Linked DNA regions of Homo sapiens: region 1 is linked to region 2. The links are contacts of gene promoters, found by promoter capture Hi-C in human tissues and cell types (Jung and others, 2019). All regions are on one chromosome and are shown on one strand. The core of a region is centred on a gene start or on the middle of the fragment in contact, and the rest is flanking DNA. Distances in the headings are between cores, read along the strand shown. Region 1 holds the start of PIK3IP1 (phosphoinositide-3-kinase interacting protein 1). Region 2 holds the start of OSBP2 (oxysterol binding protein 2).

Region 1 (4,000 bases), core at 803-3,302, 600 kb before region 2:
ATGTGTGAATAAATTTACAGACTCTAGGGTGTAATTCACAGGGTAGACCAAGTCAAGAGTCAGAGGATCAGAAGCTTGGGTGGGGAGATAGGAGAGTGATTGCAAAAACAAAGCAATCTATCTTATTAAATGGACGAAAGGGATCAAACATTATCAGTAAACTATTTTAAAGAGTGAATTAAATGTATCTCTCTATCCTTTCTATGAGTGTAGTGAATTCAGATTCACCTCAGATTAGTTGAATTGACACTAGTTTTCTTCCCTGATAAAGCTTTTAAAATTTATTTAGTAAAGTGGCCAGGCATGGTGGCTCACACCTGTAATCCCAGAACTTTGGGAGGCCAAGGTGGGTGGATCACCTGAGGTCAGGAGTTTGAGACCAGCCTGGCCAACATGGTGAAACCCCATCTCTACTAAAAAAATACAAAAAAAAATTTAGCCAGGCGTGGTGGCGCACACCTTTAATCCCAGCTACTTGGGAGGCTGAGGCAGGAGAATTGCTTGAACCTGGGAGGTGGAGGTTGCAGTAAGCCGAGATGGTGCCACTGCACTCCAGCCTGGGAGACAGAGACTCTGTCCCCCCCACCCAAAAAAAAATTAGTTGTTTTCCTCCTTAAATTACAGCCTGCAAGATTGAAACAGAGTTTCCCCATTTCTATTTTGGGATCTGACTGAGTCACAAGGTAGTCTTGACGAATCACTCTGCTCTATCTCTCAGTTTACTGAGGCTGCCTGGGAACTTGAGCTGTCAGCCAAACAGGAAGAAGGGCCCTTCTGCCTACTCCAAAAGGCCTCAGTCAAATGGATATGGTGAGATTTAATGATGGATATAAATTACAGCAAATGGATTTCCTATAGGGTGAGGGAAAAAAAAAAAAGCAAACATTTTACTTAAATTCCTCTATACAATTTAGGGCTGGCAGAAAGGGTAGACTATTACAATGTAGCTGAGCAAATTTTTCCATGTTTGCATAACATGTGTTTTCAACTAAAGATACTCCTTCTATAGTCCTACTATATACAACACCCCAAAAAACCTCAAATGTAAGAAAAAGCAATGTGACAGATTTGACCCTGGCCAAGTTACACTGTTTTTTTTTTTTTTTTTTTTTTTTTTTTTTTTTAAGTGTCAGTGTTCATAAAGGCCCTTTTTCTTTTTCAAGGATGGGTATAAAGTGTTACTCGGCCGAACGCGGTGGCTCACACCTGTAATTCCAACACTTTGGGAGGCCGAGGCAGGTGGATTACGAGGTCAGGAGTTCAAGACCAGTCTGGCCAACACAGTGAAACCCCCGTCTCTATTAAAAATACAAAAAATTAGCTGGGTTGTGGTGGTGTGCCCCTGTCACAAGGTAGTCTTGACGAATCACTCTGCTCTCTCTCTCAGTTTACTGAGGCTGCCTGGGAGCTGTCAGCCAAACAGGAAGAAGGGCCCTTCTGCCTAACTCCAAAAGGCCTAAGTCAAATGGATATGGTGAGATTTAATGATGGATATAAATTACAGCAAATGGATTTCCTATAGAGTGAGGGAAAAAAAAAATCCAGCTACTCCGGAGACTGAGGCAGAATTGCGAGAACCCGGCAGGTGGTTGCAGTGAGCCGAGATTGTGCCATTGCACTCCAGCCCGGGCGACAGTGTGAAACTCTGTCTCAAAAAGAAAAGAAAAGAAAAAAAAAAAAACTATTACTCCACTCCCCACCAGAAACTCTTATTTTTTCCCCCCTATGTGGTCATGAATTCCTCCTGGGTGCATAGCTCCCTAAGTTGTTCTGTGTTTTAGTGCTTATAATTTCCCACATCCCATGATGCCCCTTGATAGAATTATTTTTTCTGTACTCACACAAATGGAAACAGAAGAGATGAAAAACCCTGGGGATGCGGCCTCGCAGGTCTCAAACTGATCGGCTGCTAAGCACAACCTGCATATCTCTTGGCTGAGTTCCTTTCTTGGCTCAGTTAGATTTTGCATGACCTAGGAGGCTTAGGACCCAGGGGGCGCCTTTCAGCTGAAAAACAGCTCGCGCTGCAGCAAGCTAGCTGGGAAGCTCCCAGTTCTAAAGAGAGGCTGTTTACCAGAACAGCATAACAAGGGCAGGTCTGACTGCAAGGCTGGGACTGGGAGGCAGAGCCGCCGCCAAGGGGGCCTCGGTTAAACACTGGTCGTTCAATCACCTGCAAGACGAAGGAGGCAAGGATGCTGTTGGCCTGGGTACAAGCATTCCTCGTCAGCAACATGCTCCTAGCAGAAGCCTATGGATCTGGAGGTGAGATTACAATCTTTCCTTTCCGCAGCAACTTCATGAAACAGAAGGGGTAAAGCCCCCTATTTCCCAAACAGGGCCAGGATGACAGGAAACGAAGCGTTTAGCCGGTTTCTGTTGTCCCGTGAAAGCTTTTCCACCCCTCCTTTCCTTGTCAGGGGCTTGCAGCTCCATCTTTGCCATTAAGAACAAAGGCAAGAAGCCACTTTCTCTCTGCCTTTCCTTGCTCATGAGTGGATGGAGCTTGGGGGTTCATCTCCCCTACTCCCCAAGTCCTGTTCTTTCTAAGCCCTTTGCATGGTGTGGTCCTCCTTCCCCAGCCTCCTTCTGTGGTTCTCCTGCAGAGGGGAGTGGGAGCTTGGAGTCTCATCCAGTCAGCGATGAGGCCGGTTTCCTCCGTTTGAGGCTGTCTTGAATCTTTTGCCTGACGGAGTCAAGGCTCCTGGAGAATTCTCCTGGGAGGGAGTATTTGCCTTTTAAACGGGCAGAAGGTGGCCGTATCCGTGAAGGAGGAAACACCGGAGTTTATGTAACGTGGCCATTACAACACAGGGACAAATGTCACGTCTGGGCGCCCCCCGTCCCAAAACTCCCAGCTCCTCAAAGGGACCCTAAGCCAGGCCTCCTCCTCTCCATCTCCTCCTCCAAAGTGGTCACAAGTTCAAGAGTAACAACGCTTTGCACTTCTGCAGCGCTTTCCAGGTTTCAAAAATAAATAAAACCTAACAGTCTCTGAGCGTTGACTGGGGGACAGGCACAGGCTGGGGGCTTCACACCCTGAGGTGTGCGTGGAGTTGGGGGGGGGGGGTGCGTGGGGCGTGGGGGTGTTGCCACGAGAGGAGAGGGAGGCCCAGCAGGGCCCGGGGTCCCCTAACCAGGCTGAGGTTCAGCCCGGGTGGTCCCGGCTCCCCTGTCCGCCACGCTGGGCGTCTTCCGTTCGCTGCCCGCTATTCTGTGTCCGGGGGCTTCTTTTCCTCACAGGCTGTTTCTGGGACAACGGCCACCTGTACCGGGAGGACCAGACCTCCCCCGCGCCGGGCCTCCGCTGCCTCAACTGGCTGGACGCGCAGAGCGGGCTGGCCTCGGCCCCCGTGTCGGGTAAGTGTCCTCCGGGGGACGGCCCCGGGGCTGGCGGGCGGCGGCCGCGTTCCCGGTGCCAGCCCCGGCACACATTTCCTTCTCTCCTCTCTTAGGGGCCGGCAATCACAGTTACTGCCGAAACCCGGACGAGGACCCGCGCGGGCCCTGGTGCTACGTCAGTGGCGAGGCCGGCGTCCCTGAGAAACGGCCTTGCGAGGACCTGCGCTGTCCAGGTACCTGCCCGGGACCCCGGGAATCCCCGCTCCTGGCGCTGACAGGAAGCGGCTGAGACACTCGTGGCGCACGTGCGGCCGCGCGATGCCGGCCGGCCCCGCTCCGCCTCCGCGCCGTCCGATTGGCCAGGGCTGTCTCCAGGCCGCGGGGCTCAAAGCCTATTGGCCGCCGCCGCCACTCGTATGAGCTCATCCGCCGCGAGCGCTTGTAAACAACTGCGCGGGGCGAGGCTGGGGTGAGGCTAGGTCTCTCCGCCGCGCGTCCTGAGGAGTGGCTTTTGGCCCCTCAGCGTTTATTGACCGTTTGCGGAGCGTCTGCAGTGTGCTAGACCCACACTGCTCACAACCCCAGCTCCCCAACCTCCCCTGACACACACCGCGGGAAGAAGTCGTTTGAGGCATCTGAGCTTCAGAGAAGTTAAGCG
Region 2 (4,453 bases), core at 786-3,285:
GGCAGGCGAATCACCTGAGGTCAGGAGTTCGAAACCAGCCTGGGCAACATGGTGAAACCCCATCTCTACTAAAAATACAAAAAAAAAATTAGCCGGGCATGGTGACGGGCGCCTGTAATCCCAACTACTCAGGAGGCTGAGGCAGAAGAATTGCTTGAACCTGGGGGGCGGAGGTTGCAGTGAGCCAAGATTGCACCACTGCACTCCAGCCTGGGCGACAGAGCAATACTCCGTCTCAAAAACAAAAACAACAAAAAACAAAACCCTGTAGTGGGTGACTTGAAGGGATACTGTTGGCTGAATGAAGTGAGTGAAGTGACCTGAATTTCAGCAACAGCAAGTCAAGGTCCTTTTGTGTGCAGCAATGAAACAGTGCTTCTCAGAGTGTGGTCCTGGACCAGCATCACCAGCCACGCCTGGGAAGTTATTAGAAAATCCGAATCTCAGGCCCTTCCCCTAGGCCCACTGTAACAGAAATTCATTGGGGAGGCCCAGCACTTTGTGTTCCAACAAGCTCTTCAGGGAATGCTGATGCACACTCAGGTTTGAGAACCACTGGCATAGACTGATCTGAGTTCTCAAGGCTTAAACCAACCATCCCCAGGAAGCAGACCCAGGGAAGAGCCAGTAAGAAAGCAAAGGGAGGCTTCAGTAACCTCCTTTCAACCAGTTTCAGTGGGAAGACAGTGTTAGCTCTCTCACCACTGGACTTTAATTTTGAATCCCGTGCTGGGTCTGGAATAAGAAAGGAGGGCAGCAAAACACTTCCTAGCTCTCCGCAAAATGCCAAGATGGACTCCTGAAGGCCAAGAACCGTGTCCAATACATCTGTGAGTCTGTGGTGCCCAGCCCAAGGCCTGGCAACCAGAGGCATCAGGAAAGGTGGGAGTAACTGCCCCAGGCGGGAAGAATAAGCAGCCCTTCCTAAGAGTGTGGGTCCTAAGGACTGAACAAGGTGACTCTCTCCCTCAATCCCAAACACACAATGATGTTAGCTCCCGAACCAGAAAGGGCAAGGACTTTGAGGGGCTGACTCTAGCTAGCTGCCCCAAGCCCCACAACTGCCAAGCAGAAGGGAACTGAGGCCCCAGATCACTCCCTTACTCCACCTCCCCACTTGCCCAAAAACCCAAGCTTGCCAGAGGTCATGTCCGCAGATCACATTCACCCTTGCCAGAGGTCAGGGCCCCCGGCCCTTGGCGGCGGGCCAGAAGCGTGACTTGGCCTGCTGGAATGCATGCCCCTAAACATCTCTAGACTAGTGGCAGTGTCCGCCAACCATGGAGGCCCTCCATCACCATCCCTGCAGCATCACCACCCTCCAACCCCCATGTCCCACCCTGGCGCTTCCATACCTGTAGTAAGAGAGCAAACCATTGCCCAGCACGAACCAGCGGCGCTGGTAGCCCTTCAGATAGTTGGTCCACTTGAGAAGCCAGCCCTCGAAGCTGTCCAGAGGCAGTAAGGCCAGTGGGGCACTGGAGGTCGTGCCAGTCCCCGACATTGGAACCCCAAGAGGAGTCTTCGCCTGTCCTGGTCGCAGAAGAGGCAGGGGCTTTAACGCTGGCAGCGATCCTGACTCGGGTCTGAGAAAGGTCGCGCTCCCCACCGCCCGGGAGAGCGGCTCCGATGCGGCCTTAGTGAAGGGCCCAGCCCCTACACCTGAGCTTGACTCTGACCCCGGCCGCGACCCCTGCAGCAGTTCCGATGGCTGCCCAGCCCCTGGCTCCGGCTCAGACGTCGTCTCGGACACAGGTTCCGATCTTGGCACTGCCTCCGAAACTGCCTCCGACACCTGTTCTGACAGCGGTCCCCGCTCCGGTTCGGGCACGGGCTGGGGCTGGGGCTTGGGCTCCGGCCCGGAGCCGGACGTGGAAGCGCTCATGCCCGGCGCCGCCGTGTGGCACGACAGGCAGGGGACAACCGTGAACAGCGACGAGAGCCCGCGGGAGCGGCCGCCACAGCCGCCGCCTCGGCTCGGAGCCGCCGCTTTCCCCATAGAGCCGGCCGACCCGCGCGCGGCCGAGCGGCCAGTGGGGGCGGGGGGCAGGCCGGGGGCGGGGCCGGGGGCGCAGTCACGTGCGCGCGGCGCGAGGCGGGGGCGCGCGCGGGTTCCTCCGCGGTCCCGTGCGCTCCGTGCCCGTCAGCGCCCGCCGGCTGTTGTGCTCTCGGCCAGCCTCGGGCCATGTTTGGACCCTGGGTCCTTCCTAGGTCCGGCCGGTGGAAGGAGCTCTGACAACACCTGTGGGCGGAAGAGCTTGGTGGTCGGTCAACTCCGAAGGGGATGGCGCGCTTCAGGCCACGGTCTCTGCTTCGGCCCAGCCGTGCCAGGCGCTGGAGGAACAATGATGAATGCGGAGCCCGCCAGCTCCCAGCGCAGCTCTGCCCACGGGACCCTGCGCCGACGCCCCCTCCCCCAACCCAGGCTGGGGTGGGTTCGCTCTCCGCCACCCAGGAAAGCCGGGTGGGAAGCAGGTACGGCACCCAGAGGCCACGAAATGCGCACGAAGCACAGGGGCGCTAAAGGCTAAAGACGACGCCCCGCCCCCCATGGCAGCCATTACCTGTCTGTGGGTCGCTCCTGCGGCCGCCAGAAGCGGTGGCCCCAAGTGGCCGCCTCACCGCCTCCACCTCCTGAGCCAGCTGGCCTACGGTTCATGCCAAGGCGCTTCGCTGCCAGTGACGACATCGTTCGGGTTCTCTAAACAAATAGGGGAAGACTTTTTGTAAACCAAGCGTTTTAGTACAAGAAACATCTCAAAGTGGGATTCTGAACTTGGACCTCCCGGGATCCCTGGGTAGGCTGGCAGTCTGTGAGGCTTCCGCAGAGGTTTACCTGTCTGTGCATTTTTCCAGAGTAGGTCCATAACAAAGGAGGCTGTGACCCCAGAATGGTTAAAACATCAGCGAATTTTTTTTTCCGCTTTTTTTTTTTTTCCTTTTTGAGACTGAGTCTCACTCGGTAGCCCAGGCTGGAATGCAGTGGCGTGATCTTGGTTCACTGCAGCCTCCGCTTCCCAGGTTCAAGCGATTCTCCTGCCTTGGCCTCCCTAGTAGCTGGAATTCCACGGCCCGCACCATGCCCAGCTAAATTTTGTATTTTTAGTAGAAACGGGGTTTCACCATGTTGGTCAGGCTGGTCTTGAACTCCTGACCTCAGGCCAGGATCCTCCCGCCTCGGCCTCCCAAAGTGCTAGGATTACAGGCGTGAGCCACTGTGCCCAGCCATCAGTGATTTTTTTTTTTTCTTAAGAATCTATCCAAATGACGAAAGTTGATGGTTACTACAAATAATCAGAAATACAAATGGAAAGACTGAACATTGGGTTTCTGTCCAGACTTTTCAAGCTTAGACCTCTCTGCAGACTCCTCTTAGCTCACCATCACGTCTTACTCTCCCCTTACCCACCTATCCATTCCTGATCTTTGCTTGTGACAAGATAACCTGTGTAGGGACTGCTTCCTACGTGAAGTGGTCCCCAGAAGGAAGCAGATTGGAAGGTCCTAGAAATAGGAGGTGCAGACATGCACTGAGCAGGAGCCGCTGGCATCTTTGCTGGTGACTTTGAGACCCCTTCCTCAGGCACTTGTCTTTGAATGGTGGTCTTACCTGCAATTTTGCTGTGAGCTCTGGAGTGCAGAGAGCCCCCCATCTTGGTCTATCTCATATGTATGACGGTGACCCTCAAACTTCAGCATGGTGAGTCCCCCCAAGGAAAAGTGATTGCCTCTGGGGTGTAGTGGGGGACAGAACTGGACAACTGAGAAATGAGGTGGAATGCTTGCTTTTCACTCACACTTTGAACCTTTTGTATGTTTTACTGTGTATGTTTCACTGTGTGTATGTTTCACCGATTCAAAATAATGATGATAATTGTTAAAATCACCCCAGGGAGGTTTATTAGAAACACACTTTTCCAGAGCTGGGCACGGTGGCTCATGCCTGTAATCCCAGCACCTTGGGAGGCCGAGGCAGGCAGATCACGAGGTCAGGAGACCAGTCTGGCCAACATAATGAAACCCTGTCTCTACTAAAAATTAAAAAAATTAGCCGGGTGTGGTGGTGTGTGCCTGTAATCCCAGCTACTCGGGAGGCCAAGGCAAGAGAATTGCGTGAACCCAGGAGGCAGAGGTTGCAGTGAGCCGAGATCGCAACATTGCACTCCAGCACGGGCGACAGTGAGAGACTCCATCTTAGTAAAAAAAAGAAAAAGAAATTCACTTCTCCATCCCCAGTAAGTCAGAGGTGGAATCCAAGAACATGCTTTTTTTTTTTTTTTCTTTTTCTTTTCTTGAGACAGTGTCTTACTCTGTCACCTAGTCTGGAGTGCAGTGATGCAATCATGGCTCACTGCAGCCTTGGCCTTCAGGGGTCAAGTGGTCCTCCCACCTCGGCCTCCAGATTAGATGGGACTACAGGCATGTGCCACCACACCCAGCTAATTAAAAAAAT

Evidence for each region. Contacts are between HindIII fragments. The study calls those that stand out against the background at their distance.
Region 1: the fragment with the promoter of PIK3IP1 here is called in contact with the fragment with the promoter of OSBP2 in region 2 in 1 of the 25 tissues and cell types used here (dorsolateral prefrontal cortex).

What each region holds. Positions count from the first base shown.
Region 1 is chr22:31,290,540-31,294,539 of GRCh38, reverse strand. It overlaps PIK3IP1 (phosphoinositide-3-kinase interacting protein 1), which reads left to right and starts at 2,052. Exons shown (of 6, transcript NM_052880.5): 1 at 2,052-2,265; 2 at 3,244-3,360; 3 at 3,456-3,575. The coding sequence starts at 2,196. LOC105372997 (a long non-coding RNA gene) reads left to right here. Exons shown (of 4, transcript XR_001755493.3): 3 at 719-810; 4 at 1,388-1,596. RefSeq lists enhancers at 2,670-2,719, 3,860-4,000 and silencers at 3,280-3,399, 3,580-3,809. The HindIII fragment of the contact is 5,590 bases long and covers 1-4,000 here.
Region 2 is chr22:30,692,456-30,696,908 of GRCh38, reverse strand. It overlaps OSBP2 (oxysterol binding protein 2), which reads right to left and starts at 2,035. Exons shown (of 14, transcript NM_030758.4): 1 at 1,356-2,035. The coding sequence starts at 1,999. RefSeq lists silencers at 1,849-1,898, 2,283-2,362. The HindIII fragment of the contact is 4,458 bases long and covers 1-4,310 here.